Regions from separate parts of the Homo sapiens genome. Here all the other regions are linked to region 4. The links are contacts of gene promoters, found by promoter capture Hi-C in human tissues and cell types (Jung and others, 2019). All regions are on one chromosome and are shown on one strand. The core of a region is centred on a gene start or on the middle of the fragment in contact, and the rest is flanking DNA. Distances in the headings are between cores, read along the strand shown. Region 1 overlaps RALGAPA2 (Ral GTPase activating protein catalytic subunit alpha 2). Region 2 overlaps RALGAPA2 (Ral GTPase activating protein catalytic subunit alpha 2). Region 3 overlaps RALGAPA2 (Ral GTPase activating protein catalytic subunit alpha 2). Region 4 holds the start of INSM1 (INSM transcriptional repressor 1). Region 5 overlaps CFAP61 (cilia and flagella associated protein 61).

Region 1 (2,766 bases), core at 134-2,633, 240 kb after region 4:
ATGTAGCATTTTTCCAGAGCCCTTTCACACTGTTCACTTTCAGTAATGCTTCATAAACTCTAAGGTCCTCATAAATATTAGCAACATCACAGTAGGCTGCCATGCTCAGGACTCTCTGGCACATCTGTTCCCCAGGCAGCTCACCAGGTATCAGCCTGCTCTTGGTCTTCACCTGCTCACCACATGAGATGCAAGAAGCACAGGCATCTCTTTGGCTCTCTGCTCGCACCAAAGACCGGCCCAGCCCTCCACCATATCCGGGACCTCACTTATCCTCTGTCTCCCCAAGACCATCTTGTCCTCCCTCACTGGACCATCCCATTGGTGAGCAAACATACTTTAGTACCACCCACCTTAAACCTCGCCCACCATGTATGCCACCGACTTCAGCTAGCTCCCCTTTTCCTCTTCCTTTCCACAGCAAGAACTCTGCAAAGCCTTAACTACACTTGCAACTTCCACTGCCCAGCTCTCATTTTCTCCTCCATCTACTCCAGGTGGGACTCATCCCATAGAACATTCTCAACCAACTACATCTGTCAAAGCCCATGGTCAACTGGCTGCTCTCCTCCTACCCAATACTCATCCCCAGGCACCCAGGATACACACTCCTCTGGTTTTCCTCCTCACTCACTGGCCACCCTTTCTCAGCATCTCTCCCATCACCTGTGGACATTGTCCTCTCTAGGTAAGCCCATCCTGTGGCTTTAAATACAATTGCCCAACACACTGATGGCTCTCAAAGTTTTATCCCATTCCCATACTTTCGTTCATCCTTTACCTCTCCAAATCTACCTAGCCTTCCACCAAGGCCATCAGAGCTTCCTAATTCCTACCACCCTTGAGCAAATTAAAAGAGGAAGTAGGTAGCAGAGAGGGAGAAAAGCCTAAAAGCCCAGCACTAATTGTAAAGAACAGATCATAACCTTCAGGACAAAGCTAAGAAGAAAAATTTCTAGAAATTTAAATTTAATATTATTTTTAAAATTCTCAATGATTAAAACTAGTTTGCTACAAAATCTGATTCATTTCTTGCATTTGCAGTGCTTTCATAAAAAAGACTTACCCTAAATAGTAACCCTGCCAAGCTCTGGGCAAACAAGTCCTTTATTTGTTTATCCTTTGGCTTCTGCATGACAGCTTCTGTTATCCTGAGTAGTATTTGCAACATCTGTTCCCTGGGCCACCCAAAATAAAAGCTCATATTAATAATCATGTCTCCAAAGCACTTTAATTTATAGGTACCAGAAATTCTCTTAAGAATTCAGCAACATTGATAATTATGTATTACTCGAAACTATTAAAGTCCAGATGCCAATTACATAATGAATACCATATTTTACCAAAATAAGCTCCCTTATGTTATAACAGTTTTAAAAACATGCCTCCCATGTCCACACAAACAGGCAGGATAAAACATCATTCCAGCCTGATTTTCTCCCCTTGCAAAAAGAGAGGCAAGATCGTCTTCTCCAACTGTGCCAGCAGCTTAAAGGTACTCAGTGAAAACCTACTGGAACATATGCAGCACTCTTTAATTTTGCTATCCACTGTTTTACTTAACCTGTAAGGTCTCCCTCTCATTGCAACAGGAGGTGAAGCTGACTTTCTGGCCTTTATTTTGGGGACACACACAGTCAGTATCTTGGTAAGGTGGAATGCCACAGTACTCTCACAGGCAGGAGGGGTTTGCATTACAGGACACTTACAGGCACAGTGCTCATGTCTGGAAGATCCTGACTCTGCACTACAGGGCACAACTGAGACAAATGCCATCACTGCAGCTCAGTTCCAATGTGCCAGCATTTTTCATAGTCTCTTACAGAAGGTTTATGTAAAAGGACTTTGAAGACTATAAAATAGTACAGAGACAACATAACACTGCTAATTACAATAATAAGTTCTTCAGAACAGCCAAAAGACATTTTTCTTTCTTACACCTAAGTTATATTGCTCATATCAGAGTATCTGCTCACTTTTTCTTTCCCTAGATTCTATGGGAACACAGAACACATCATCTTTCATATGTAAGAGAAGTGCATTTGTTCCTCGAGGGAAATCACTCTGGTTCCTTTCAGGTTTCACATGCTAACCATTCATCTAATCTTTACTACTTTCTCCTTGGCTTTACTGCTCTTTAGTAATAAAACTGAGAATAGGACAAAGTAATCAGATGAGATCTCTAAATCATAGTTCCCGTTTACTTTTCTCATATCTCTGCTTATCAAAACAGCATTTTCTCCTAACAATATATGATGCTGAACCTCATAAAATTCCTCACAGTAAAATCACCTGTGGGGATTTCCTGCCCTCTTTGTAGCTGGCCCCATTTGATTTTGGTCCCCAGAGTCATCTGTTGTTATACATTCTCACTGCACTGCATGCTACTTGTCCATGTATTCCTATTCCCTGCCTACGGATTCTGGAAGCACAGAAGAGGAAGGGCTATCTTCTGGGCACACACGCTGAAGCAGGATGGTGACTTTGAAGAGAACTGGGAGAAGCAATGGCACAGTGCTGGGGGACAGCTTGTCGCTCATCACATTCAGGGTACCCAGGCCCCTGTCGCCAGGGCAGAGAAGGGCAGCACCTAGTATCACCACTGCCCATTCATGTTACATGATGCATAAGACAATGAAAAACAATCCCTTACACACAACTAGTTACAGATCCATCATGAGAATGTGATGAGAACAACAGACATCGTAAGTTTCAAGTAAAGCCTTGATCATGGCAACTGCTATCAAAAGCCACAAATGTGATCAA
Region 2 (2,737 bases), core at 235-2,734, 130 kb after region 4:
AACTGTCAACCATGTCAGAACATACGGAATACTCTGGATGGCTCAAAGTGTTGCCCAATTTAAAGAAGAGTCCATCATTGACACATCATTTTGTGAGTATTGAAGAACTGGGATTAGAGGCCCTCAAATTAGAAACCCATCAGTGAGTTCGGTGAGTGCACACAAGTCAAGTTGATCTGGTTCCTGTGTAACTGGGGAAGAATGATGAGTCTCCTTCTGGAATGGAGCCGGTGTTTATGTTAGCTACTCCTTCAACTGCACAACAGGCTCCACAATGGCTGGATACTTATCAGGCTCAGAACAAATGCTCAGATTTTAAGTCTTAAGAAATCAATCCCGGACCCACAACTTTTCATCCTAACAGAGTTTTAAAGTCCCTTTGCCTAAGCCATTCTGTCTGTTGCTGCTGCCAGGCTGCACGCCACTGGTGACACCGGTCATGGTACACACCTAATAGGCTGACCTCCTTTCTCGACTAATTGCATTACATCGCCAGCTGGCTCCAGAAGGAGTCGTCTGTTTGATTGAAGAATTCCTGCTCCTCAGTGGGCCCGGCTGCTACTTTTACTAAGTAACAGTCAGGCCTGACATCCCCATTGTTCAGCTGACAGTGTGCCCATCCTAAAATCTAAGTTTTATTTGTAAATTAACCAAGAAACTTCCTGCCAGAACAGCGCTGCCTGGAGACTGATAATGTGGGCCTTTCATCCCTTTTCACTCGTACTGTATCACTGCCAATTTGTTTTTTATGTGGCTGGCCAGCCTGAGGCTATAAAAGCCTTGTAAGACATAAGTGCAATTATAGTCCTGGAGTCAAATGAATTGGACAAATCCAATAGCACAGCTCTGTCCCCACTCTGCAAACCCCTACAGCAGTTAGATTAGCTGTGAAAAATCTAATCTAGCTAGAGCTAACAAATTTCTGCAGTGAAGGATCAAGAGTTCAGTATGGGGTTGCAACTGGATTGCAGAATTGAAAAAGTCCCCCCATGATGGGGGCAGAAGAGAGCATGAATCACTTTAGAATTTTGCAGCTCATTTTTAAGCTGTTAGGGACAATTTAGTTAGAATAAGACAAGGAACTGTGGGCTGCTGTTACTGTGACTGATTTTTAGTCTAGCTGTGAGACATCTGATAAAGAGAGTTTATCACTAATGATGCTAAACCTTACAGCTGCAAAAGGTATCAGCTGAATTTTGATTATTACAGTAGGGAATCATTCAACCAGGCCAAGTCTTAGAACATTATTTACAGCTTGGCATTTTATCAAGAAAACATGTCTTTTCTCAAAAAAGAAAAAACAGTCCTACTTTACTTAAGAAATAATTTAAAAAATATTTTATATATAAATTTTATCTTTTAACAAAATAATTCTCAGTCATAAGAAAATTATAGAATATGGTGACACATTTGCAAAGCAGAAACAATTTACAATGTACTGCAAATAAAAAAGATGTGTGAGCCCAGCTTAGGATCCTGGTAAGCTACACTAGAGTCTGAGATCCTGGTGAATTCTTGGAGGGCAGAGTTCCCTTTGCTGAGAGCTCTACAGCCAGGGGCAGCCATCAAAACCCAACACTGAGGCAGCTCCTCCAAGACGTGTGGGAACCAGCACGTGGTCAGCGCTTCTGGCTGTAGTACTGCCACCCCCAGGAGGTCATTATAGCATGCTGGGGCAGGAGAGGGAAAGGCTGCTGAGTTTTTGAACGCAAATTGTACTTTCTACATCTGAGACACTTGATCACTACGGAAGTTGTCTGTAATTGGGCCATGACTTGAGTTCTGATGTTTCACATGCACTGCTGCCCATCATATACAGGCACACCTCAGAGATATTATAGGCTTGGTTTCAGACATATCCGCAATAGGTTTTTTAGATATTGCAAATACAGATATTGCAATAAAGCAAATCATATAAACTTTTGTGTGCACTGGGAAAGCAGTGTGCATAAAACTTATGTTTACTATAGTCTATTAAATGTGCAATAGCATTATTTCTTACCATATGTATATTAATAAAAAAATTTTATTGCTAAAAAATGCTAATGATTATCTGAGCCTTCAGTGAGTTGTAGTCTTTTTTTGCTGGTACAGGGTTTTGCCTTGATGTTGTTGGTTGCTGATTGATCAGGGTGGCAGTTGCTGAAGGCTGGGGTGGCTGTGGCAATTTCTTAAGGTAAGATAATGAAATTGCCACATTGATTGACTCTTCCTTTCATGAAAGATTTCTCTGTAGCATGTGATGGTGTCTGACAGCATTTTGCCCACAGTAGAACTTCTTTTGAAATTGGAGTAATATTTTCAAACCCTGTCACTGCTTTACCAATTAAATTTATGGAATATTCTAAATCTTTTGTTGTAATTTCAACAATGTTCATAGCATCATCACTGAGAACAGATTCCTTCTCAAGAAACCCACTTTCTTTGCTTATCCATAAGAAGCAACTTTTCATCCAGTCAAATTTTATCATGACATTGCAGTAATTCAGCTACATCTTCAGTCTCCACTTCTAATTCTAGTTCTCTTGCTATTTCTGCTAAATGTGCAGTGACTTCCTTCACTGAAGTCTTGAATCTTTTAAAGTCATCCATGAGGGTGGGACTCTATCCAAACTCCTGTGAATCTTGATATCTTGATCTGTTCCCATGAATCACGAATGTTCCTAATGGCATCTAGAATGGTGAATCCATTCCAGAAGGTTTTCAATGGTCTTTGCCAGATCCATCAGAGAACTCA
Region 3 (2,714 bases), core at 191-2,690, 150 kb after region 4:
CAAATTTGAGCTCTTTCTTGCTTAACCTAAAATACCCACGCTATCACCTTTATTTTTCCTTTTCACTTTCTATATGATGTATCCGCTTGGCAAGGACGTGCACACCAATATGTTTTTAAGCATCTTGCCTATTTGCTTAGTTAATATGTCAGTGAATTTTAAAAACTCCTTTGTCAGAGAAGTTTAAGCAATTATTTTTAGTACTTTAGAACTATCTTGGGAATGTTTCCCAAAGAGTATTGTACACTGAAAGAAAAATGGTGCCAGAATTTAAATGTATATTTTTAGGTTTTTCCTTTTTCAATAACCTATTTATCTTCTGCTATTTTTAAGTGACAACTCATAATAAATGGTGAACCTATTTTAGGGATAGCCATGTTTTGGGGATATACTCATGTGGATGAGTATAAATTGATGACTTTAGGAAAAAACAAGTTAATTTTATTATAAGACATATGAACTTACAGTAGGGAACAACGAAATAGATTAAGAGTTGTTTCAATTACTTAATAAAAATAATTTATCATTGTGGGGGAAAAAGTAAAGCAGACATTGCAGTTGACAGTGGAGCTCCAGAAATAAACAATTAAATGATTAAATAAATGGAGAACAAATCAAGAAAACAACATGAAAATGAACCATGTACCATCCACCACCAACACAACTCAAAACAAGAGTGTTAAGTCTACTCCACGTCAAAACTTTCAGAGTAAATAATGCATTTTAGGAACTTGGTCATTAAATCTTAGGTTCAAATTCCACCTCCCTTACTTCTGACTTGTACACACCCCTGGGAATATCCCTTAACCTCAGTTTGCTCATCTACAAAATGCAGCTAAAATCAGGACTGCTAGATTTTAAGCCCTTGCTCATGACTGTCACCCCCAGTCCTGTCTTTTTCATCCTCATCTCACCTTCCCCTTCATGTCAGCTTGAACCTTGCTCCAGACTCTGTAGTGCTGCAAGCATACCCCTGGACCTTTGTCCTCCCTCACCCAGCCACTGCCTGCTGTGTCCTTCCTCCTTCCACTAAGGGCCTCACAAAAGGAGTCTGACTCAGGGATCTGACTGTCACTGCACAGGTCACCTGCTCATGTTATCTGGCTGGACCCACCACTCTGGTGAAAGTGCTCTGGCAAAACCTACCACCAAACACCTAGTTGGGAAATATAACAGCTCCTGTTTCATTCTCACCTTCCCTAAGCTTTCTGAAGCAACTAGCACTGCTGACCTTTCTCAACTTCTTATTTGCTTTCTTCCTTGACTTGCTAGAAATGACTCTTTCTTGGTCCTCTTTCCACTTCCCTGACTTTGCTTTCCTGGTGACATTCCCTCACTCTGCTGTCCTTAAGGATGTTTCTGCCCACAAGGTTCTAGTCTTGGGCCTAGGTTTTTAACTTGTGAAGTCCATACAATTTTCATGGATGATCTAACACTTCACACCTACATCTCTTTAATTTTTTTTTTTTTAAGATAGAGTCTCACTCTGTCGCTCAAGCTAGAGTGCAGTGGCGCTGATCACAGCAGCCTTGACCTCACAGACTCAAGTGGTCCTGTGCTCAAGTGATCTGCTCGCCTTGGCCTCCCAAAGTGACGGGATTACAGGTGGGAGCCATGATGCTTGGCCTTCTTCTAATTTTTAGTGTTGAGACAACTGAAGATTCACATGCAGTTGTAAGCAGTAATACAGAGAGACCTCAAATACCTTTCATCTCAGGGTAACATCTTGCATACCTATAGGACAATATCACAGTCAGGAAGTTGACATTGATAATAATCCATCTATATTACTCAGTGTTCACCAGTTTTACATGCATGCATTTGTGTGTGTGTGTGTGTTTGGTTCTATGCAATTTTATCATATGTATAGACAGTATACCCACATTCTACTCCCATTCCAAGGCCCAAAGCTGGGCTCTTATCATTCTGGGGAGAGGGGTGCTTAAGTAAGAAATACAGCAGGCTCTAAGTCCTGACAATCCCTATATGCTCTGAAATGGACTCTCTGCTATGAGCAGAGCAAATCTAAAACTGTAGCAAGTAAATTTCCATCTCTTTTTATGATGCTCTCCTAACTTGGAACAATCTATGAGCTCCTTTCAACACCTGCCCACCCTGCTAAGTCTGGCTTAAGTCCTTCTTCATGGAAAGCCCTCATGGTGCTACCAGTCCACAGTGAGTCCTTCTGGACTTCACTGTGTGTTTTCCATTAGATGTAAAGCTCCTTGAGGATAGAAAATGAGCCTTTTTTGTGAGTTCCATGGATTTGAGACATACCTGTCTTCAATAATACAAAAACCATTTGAACTACTAAAATGGGAAAACAGAGGAGAAAAAAAGAAGAAACAAGGAAGGCAGAATTTGCCATCACAGAGGACTCCAGGAACTAGGATTTCAACTTCAACAACTAGATTAAAAAAAAATAGAGCAAGCATGGCTAAAGGCTAAATCCTTCCTTTTCCTTCCCACAAGATTTCATACCTGAAAGAATACTCACCCTCTTCAACAGTCAGCAGGTTACCCAATTCTGCTGATGAATGATACTGGACTGGCTCAGAGCTCTTCACATTTGCCAGTGGCAGGAAGGGGTCATAATCCGTGGATGACAAGTCAGCCAGGGTCAGTATGTAGTGACTCTGTTGGGTGTACGTGCTTGAGCCACACACACAGCAGTGCAAAACCTGTGAAAACAGAGGCCATGTGCACCACGGATG
Region 4 (2,700 bases), core at 67-2,566:
TACAGATTGCCCCCCCTCCCCCCGTCCAGCACGCGTCTCTTTTGCGTCCAGATTGGCCGCGACCGGAGCTCAATAGCAGGAGGTTAATTTCCTTCACAAAGGTGAAGGGGGCACGGCTCCGTGGGGGCTGCGCCCAGACAGGCAGCCCCTTTATTTCGCAGCGCCTTGATTGGAGCCCTTGATTTAGCATCTGATGTCAACCGGCAAACAAAATGCCCGCTCGGAATGAAAATGCATGAGGCCGCGCGGGGAGGAGAAAGCCAACTTCACTGGGGCGCACGAGGCCGACCGCGCGTTTCGGGCTTCGGCCAACTCGACCCGGATTAACCGAGCCTTGGACCACGCGGAAGCTCCGGGCGGCCTGGGTCGGGCCCCGCCAAAGATGCCATTCCCAAGCCTCCAAGAACCCAAAAGTTCAGAAATTCACGTTCCTCTGGGAACCCAGCCCAGCCCGCCCGCGCTCCAATCCCGCGCTTTCGGGAGACTGAGAAGGCCGTGCCAATTCCTTCTCAAACTCGAAAGAAACCTTCTCTAGCCCCGTGGGCGCGCGGAGGCTGCGAGCACAAACATCGCCCTCGGCCACTGCCAGAAGGCCGGGCCCCCTGTCCACACTTGGAACCCCGGGGAACCCTTTTGCTTGGCCTCTTGGGTCCAGCGGCCCATCCGTCCAAGGTCCGGGCGGAGGCCGTCCGGACCCTGCTGCTCTCTCGGATTCTTGTTTATTTCCCAAACACCACGCGGAGCCACTGCGCCTCCGCAACGATCTCCCCCGCACCGCCCCGGCGCGCCCCCGCCCCCACCCAATCAGCGCGCACAACTTCCCCCTCGGCTCCGGCTCGCGGATTGAACCCTCCTGACATATTTGGGGCCATTCTTCTCCTTTGTTGCTATTTTGCTAGCGACCCGCGGGTAATCCCCGCGCGGGAGGGGGGCGTGCATTGTCGCGCTGATGGACGGGCCCATTTGGCGGCTCCGCGCCCCCCGGAGGAGAGACACAAAGCCCAGGCACGTGCGCCTCCCCATAGAGAAGCAGCAGACCGTGAAGGGAGGCGGGGCCGGGCGTGTGCCTGGACCGGGCGGGGCGGCGGCGCCGGGCGGGGCGACCAGGGGCGCGCGCGGGGGCCCCGCGCCCTCAGGTACATCTGCCGCACCTACCGGGCGACCCCCGAGTCCCGGCCCCCTTTTGGCCGCCCCATCGCCCTCCCACCCTGCCAGGCTGAGGAGCTGCGGACGCGCTGATTGGCTCCAGGGGAAGCGGGAGGCGAGAACAATGGCCCCCTCCCCCCGTTAAAAGGGAGCGGCTGCCGGGCCCGGGGACAGGGACGCGCGTGCAGGGCGCAGAGCTGGGCCGAGCCGTCGCCGGCGCCACGCGAGTCCCGCAGCCGCCGCGCCCGGGCAATGGGCCGGGGGCACTGAGGGCCGCCGGGGCCGAGCGCGGAGGGGGGACCGAGCCAGTGCCGTGCCCTCGGGCCGCGCCAACATGCCCCGCGGCTTCCTGGTGAAGCGCAGCAAGAAGTCCACGCCCGTTTCCTACCGGGTCCGCGGCGGCGAGGACGGCGACCGCGCACTGCTGCTCTCGCCCAGCTGCGGGGGCGCCCGCGCCGAGCCCCCGGCGCCGAGCCCGGTCCCCGGGCCGCTGCCGCCGCCGCCGCCCGCGGAGCGCGCCCATGCAGCGCTCGCCGCCGCGCTTGCCTGCGCGCCTGGGCCGCAGCCACCCCCGCAGGGCCCGCGGGCCGCGCACTTCGGCAACCCCGAGGCTGCGCACCCCGCGCCGCTCTACAGTCCCACGCGGCCCGTGAGCCGCGAGCACGAGAAGCACAAGTACTTCGAACGCAGCTTCAACCTGGGCTCGCCGGTCTCGGCCGAGTCCTTCCCCACGCCCGCCGCGCTGCTCGGAGGGGGCGGCGGCGGCGGCGCGAGCGGAGCTGGCGGAGGCGGCACCTGCGGCGGCGACCCGCTGCTCTTCGCGCCCGCCGAGCTCAAGATGGGCACGGCGTTCTCGGCTGGCGCCGAGGCGGCCCGCGGCCCGGGCCCCGGCCCCCCACTGCCCCCTGCCGCCGCCCTGCGGCCCCCGGGAAAGCGGCCCCCGCCCCCTACCGCCGCGGAGCCGCCCGCCAAGGCAGTCAAGGCCCCGGGCGCCAAGAAGCCCAAGGCCATCCGCAAGCTGCACTTCGAGGACGAGGTGACCACGTCGCCCGTGCTGGGGCTCAAGATCAAGGAGGGCCCGGTGGAGGCGCCGCGGGGCCGCGCGGGGGGCGCGGCGCGGCCGCTGGGCGAGTTCATCTGCCAGCTGTGCAAGGAGGAGTACGCCGACCCGTTCGCGCTGGCGCAGCACAAATGCTCGCGCATCGTGCGTGTGGAGTACCGCTGTCCCGAGTGCGCCAAGGTCTTCAGCTGCCCGGCCAACCTGGCCTCGCACCGCCGCTGGCACAAACCGCGGCCCGCGCCCGCCGCCGCCCGCGCGCCGGAGCCAGAAGCAGCAGCCAGGGCTGAGGCGCGGGAGGCACCCGGCGGCGGCAGCGACCGGGACACGCCGAGCCCCGGCGGCGTGTCCGAGTCGGGCTCCGAGGACGGGCTCTACGAGTGCCATCACTGCGCCAAGAAGTTCCGCCGCCAGGCCTACCTACGCAAGCACCTGCTGGCGCACCACCAGGCGCTGCAGGCCAAGGGCGCGCCGCTAGCGCCCCCGGCCGAGGACCT
Region 5 (2,700 bases), core at 30-2,529, 160 kb before region 4:
CTCTTTTTAACATTTTAGACAGTTTTAATGTTTTAGAGTGATTATCTGACACAAGTTGAGCCAAGTAGAATATTTTTAGGAGGAATCTCAGTATAGCCCTCAAGACATTGTTTTCTTAGTAGAGCAATAGCATTGCAGTAGCAAACTGTGCAAGGCTGAGCAACTGTCATTACCAAATGAATGAATTTTCCCTTTAGGTTTCACATCTCCCACCGCCCCCCCGCCACAACCCCTCCCAGTGCATCAAGCTTTATATGAGACCCTCAGCTCCCTCACCATGTCCATATCATTTCTCTTGCTGGCCACTCGTCTTTCATACCTTTTATCCTATTTAAAGCATCTTAGAGTGACCATCCAGTCCCTACCTTTCACCTAGGAAGCCAATCTTCAAGGGAACAGATCACTCCAGGCATGAGTAATGGGATAGAAAGCATTTCATCTCGGTAGGTTGCCAATTTGAATCTGGCACAAGGAAGCAGTGATTGAAATTCATCACTGCATGGCAGGGAAATATGCCCTCGCTCCCACCCCAAGGCCTTCCTAATTCCTGCCTGGTTTGGACGATCAGTGTCCCGGCCACAACACCTTCCCCGTCGTTTCTATTAATTGACAGCCTACCCCGCAGCAGGTCATAAAAAAGAGCCTAGAAAACATAAATGATTTTCATCACACATTTCAGAATCAGGCCTCAAAGATTCATAGTAATGTCTCCACAGTCAACCAGTGTGAATGCATGGGTAAGAGAGAGGGCTTTTTCCTGACCAAGACCGTAATTGACATCATAGACCTGAAAGATTCTTTTCTGAGCTTGAATGAGCCATCTTGGCCTGTGCTTTTACATTAGGAGAGTTACTCTCATGGAAGTTTTTATTAGATGACTCGTCAGGGCCTGCCTGCATAAGAATTATTATTTTTTACAAAATTATTTTATTTCTTTAATTTTTAGTTTTTGTTGGTACACAGTAGGTATCGATGTTTATAGGGTACATGAGATATTTTGATACAGGCATGCAATGAGTAATAATCACATCATGTAAAATGGGGTATCCATCCATCCCCTCAAGTATTTATCCTGAATGAGTATTATGATCAGGAAAACACTCAAAATTGGGCTGAATTAATTTAGTGGTTATATTGATTAAAGACAGCCGAACAAGCTGCCTTACACTTATTTTGAGGGTGGGTCTACATACAAACCTGTTTTCTTTCCTTTCTGCCTTTTATAGGGATTCAGATATGACTGTGTCACCATCCATGCCTGCATGGAGCTTCCAGTCTAGTTTCAGTATTAAATGGGGGTAGATGAGGGCTTGTACTGGCCTCCTAGGTGACACGAGCCCAAACTCAGGAGAAATAGCCACACTGGGCTCAGACCTGTTTCTGCAGAATTCCTGGAGAGGGAATGTGTTTGAGAAAAAGGCACTGCTTCCTTTCCAGGAATGGGAGTTTACACAACTGTTATTTGTCATATTACACTCCAGAAAACCTGCTTTGAACTTAAAGAGCCCCTCCCATTGCCTCAATGTCAATAGTTGCTCCCCATCATCCACTTCAGTCACTTCAGCTCTTCATCTTGGTTTATTGTGTTCATAGAATTGTAGCGTGAACTCACCTCTCTCTCAGTTATTTTCAGAACTAAATCAACCCTTCATCCTTCCTGAGCAATCATACTTTCAGAGTGATCTTGTTTTTTTCTGGTTGCTTATTAATGATGGTCTGATTAAATCTCAACTAATGAATTCTTTGGAGGCCTCCATTTGGATTCTGTGCATTCATTTCTCCACATTTTTTCTTTGTCCTTCTACAAAGAAAAATGACGGCTTATGGAGCCCCTCCCCCTCAGAGCTAAGTGATGGCCCTGCTTTTTCCTGGTATGTGATCTCTCAGGAAGATGTCACTCACTGGCATTCAGTTACCCTTTGAATTGCCCCTTTTCATCTGGCTGTTCTTCCCAGTCCAGCTATAATTACCATCTGATGGACTGTTACTGGATACTGTTTCACTTGTGCATCTGCTGCCCTAGGAAATTGCATTATTCTCCCAGCACCTGCTAGATTTTCCCCAGCTTTATTGTTTCCCAGCCCCTTCCTTAAACTTGGTAACTTTCACCGCCAGTGGTTAGACTTCCCTTGGTTATATTTGTGGTCGGGGTATGTGGTGTGTTTTTAGCTCTTTGGCCATCACCTTGGTAGAGGTTTCTAAAAAGGCAGACCTGTATTTTTTCAGCATCATATATGCTCTAATCATTATTAATGTGACGATGGGAGGCATATTTTCTTGAAATGAAATTAACCCACTTTAAATCATCGCCATGAGTCCAGTTTGCTGCTTCAAGCCACTTCCCAGCCAGTTCCTATGTGTTTACACTATCTATGAGAAGTGCATTTCCTTCTACTTATAGTGAACTCTTTTCTCTCAGATTCTTGGGATCATTTACATAAGTTCCTTTATGGGCTTTCTTCTTTCTACAATACAAGTTCTGTGGCCATTTCTTTCCAATTCTCTGAACATTGTCTAGTTTAATATAATATGTTATATATTATATAAGTGTCTATTATATGAATAGTATATAAATATTCACCAGAAGGACTTATAAACCAGTGTTTATTCTCATTACTGTCCTAATTTTTCGCTCTTAGAAAGGTTACAAGGTAATAAAAACAACTACTGTTGCATTACTGTTACTTCCTGAGCTCTTGC

The links. The method cuts DNA at HindIII sites, captures the fragments that hold promoters and counts their contacts. A contact is called where the count stands out against the background at its distance.
Region 1: a contact is called between a fragment that was not itself captured here and the fragment with the promoter of INSM1 in region 4, in 2 of the 25 tissues and cell types used here (IMR-90 fibroblasts and mesenchymal stem cells).
Region 2: a fragment that was not itself captured here is called in contact with the fragment with the promoter of INSM1 in region 4 in 1 of the 25 tissues and cell types used here (hippocampus).
Region 3: a contact is called between a fragment that was not itself captured here and the fragment with the promoter of INSM1 in region 4, in 3 of the 25 tissues and cell types used here (dorsolateral prefrontal cortex, hippocampus and lymphoblastoid cells).
Region 5: a fragment that was not itself captured here is called in contact with the fragment with the promoter of INSM1 in region 4 in 2 of the 25 tissues and cell types used here (mesendoderm cells and thymus).

The regions. Positions count from the first base shown.
Region 1 is chr20:20,610,249-20,613,014 of GRCh38, forward strand. RALGAPA2 (Ral GTPase activating protein catalytic subunit alpha 2) reads right to left here. Exons shown (of 40, transcript NM_020343.4): 14 at 1,067-1,178. Among named protein-coding and RNA genes, the nearest start is that of RALGAPA2, 100 kb to the right of the region's middle. The HindIII fragment of the contact is 6,280 bases long and covers 1-2,766 here.
Region 2 is chr20:20,498,036-20,500,772 of GRCh38, forward strand. All of the region lies in intron 35 of RALGAPA2 (Ral GTPase activating protein catalytic subunit alpha 2), which reads right to left. Among named protein-coding and RNA genes, the nearest start is that of INSM1, 130 kb to the left of the region's middle. The HindIII fragment of the contact is 3,606 bases long and covers 1-2,737 here.
Region 3 is chr20:20,518,420-20,521,133 of GRCh38, forward strand. It overlaps RALGAPA2 (Ral GTPase activating protein catalytic subunit alpha 2), which reads right to left. Exons shown (of 40, transcript NM_020343.4): 31 at 2,498-2,681. Among named protein-coding and RNA genes, the nearest start is that of INSM1, 150 kb to the left of the region's middle. The HindIII fragment of the contact is 6,197 bases long and covers 1-2,714 here.
Region 4 is chr20:20,366,788-20,369,487 of GRCh38, forward strand. It overlaps INSM1 (INSM transcriptional repressor 1), which reads left to right and starts at 1,317. Exons shown (of 1, transcript NM_002196.3): 1 at 1,317-2,700. The coding sequence starts at 1,481. RefSeq lists an enhancer at 410-1,180. The HindIII fragment of the contact is 4,823 bases long and covers 1-2,700 here.
Region 5 is chr20:20,202,542-20,205,241 of GRCh38, forward strand. All of the region lies in intron 17 of CFAP61 (cilia and flagella associated protein 61), which reads left to right. Among named protein-coding and RNA genes, the nearest start is that of CFAP61-AS1, 64 kb to the right of the region's middle. The HindIII fragment of the contact is 6,572 bases long and covers 1-2,700 here.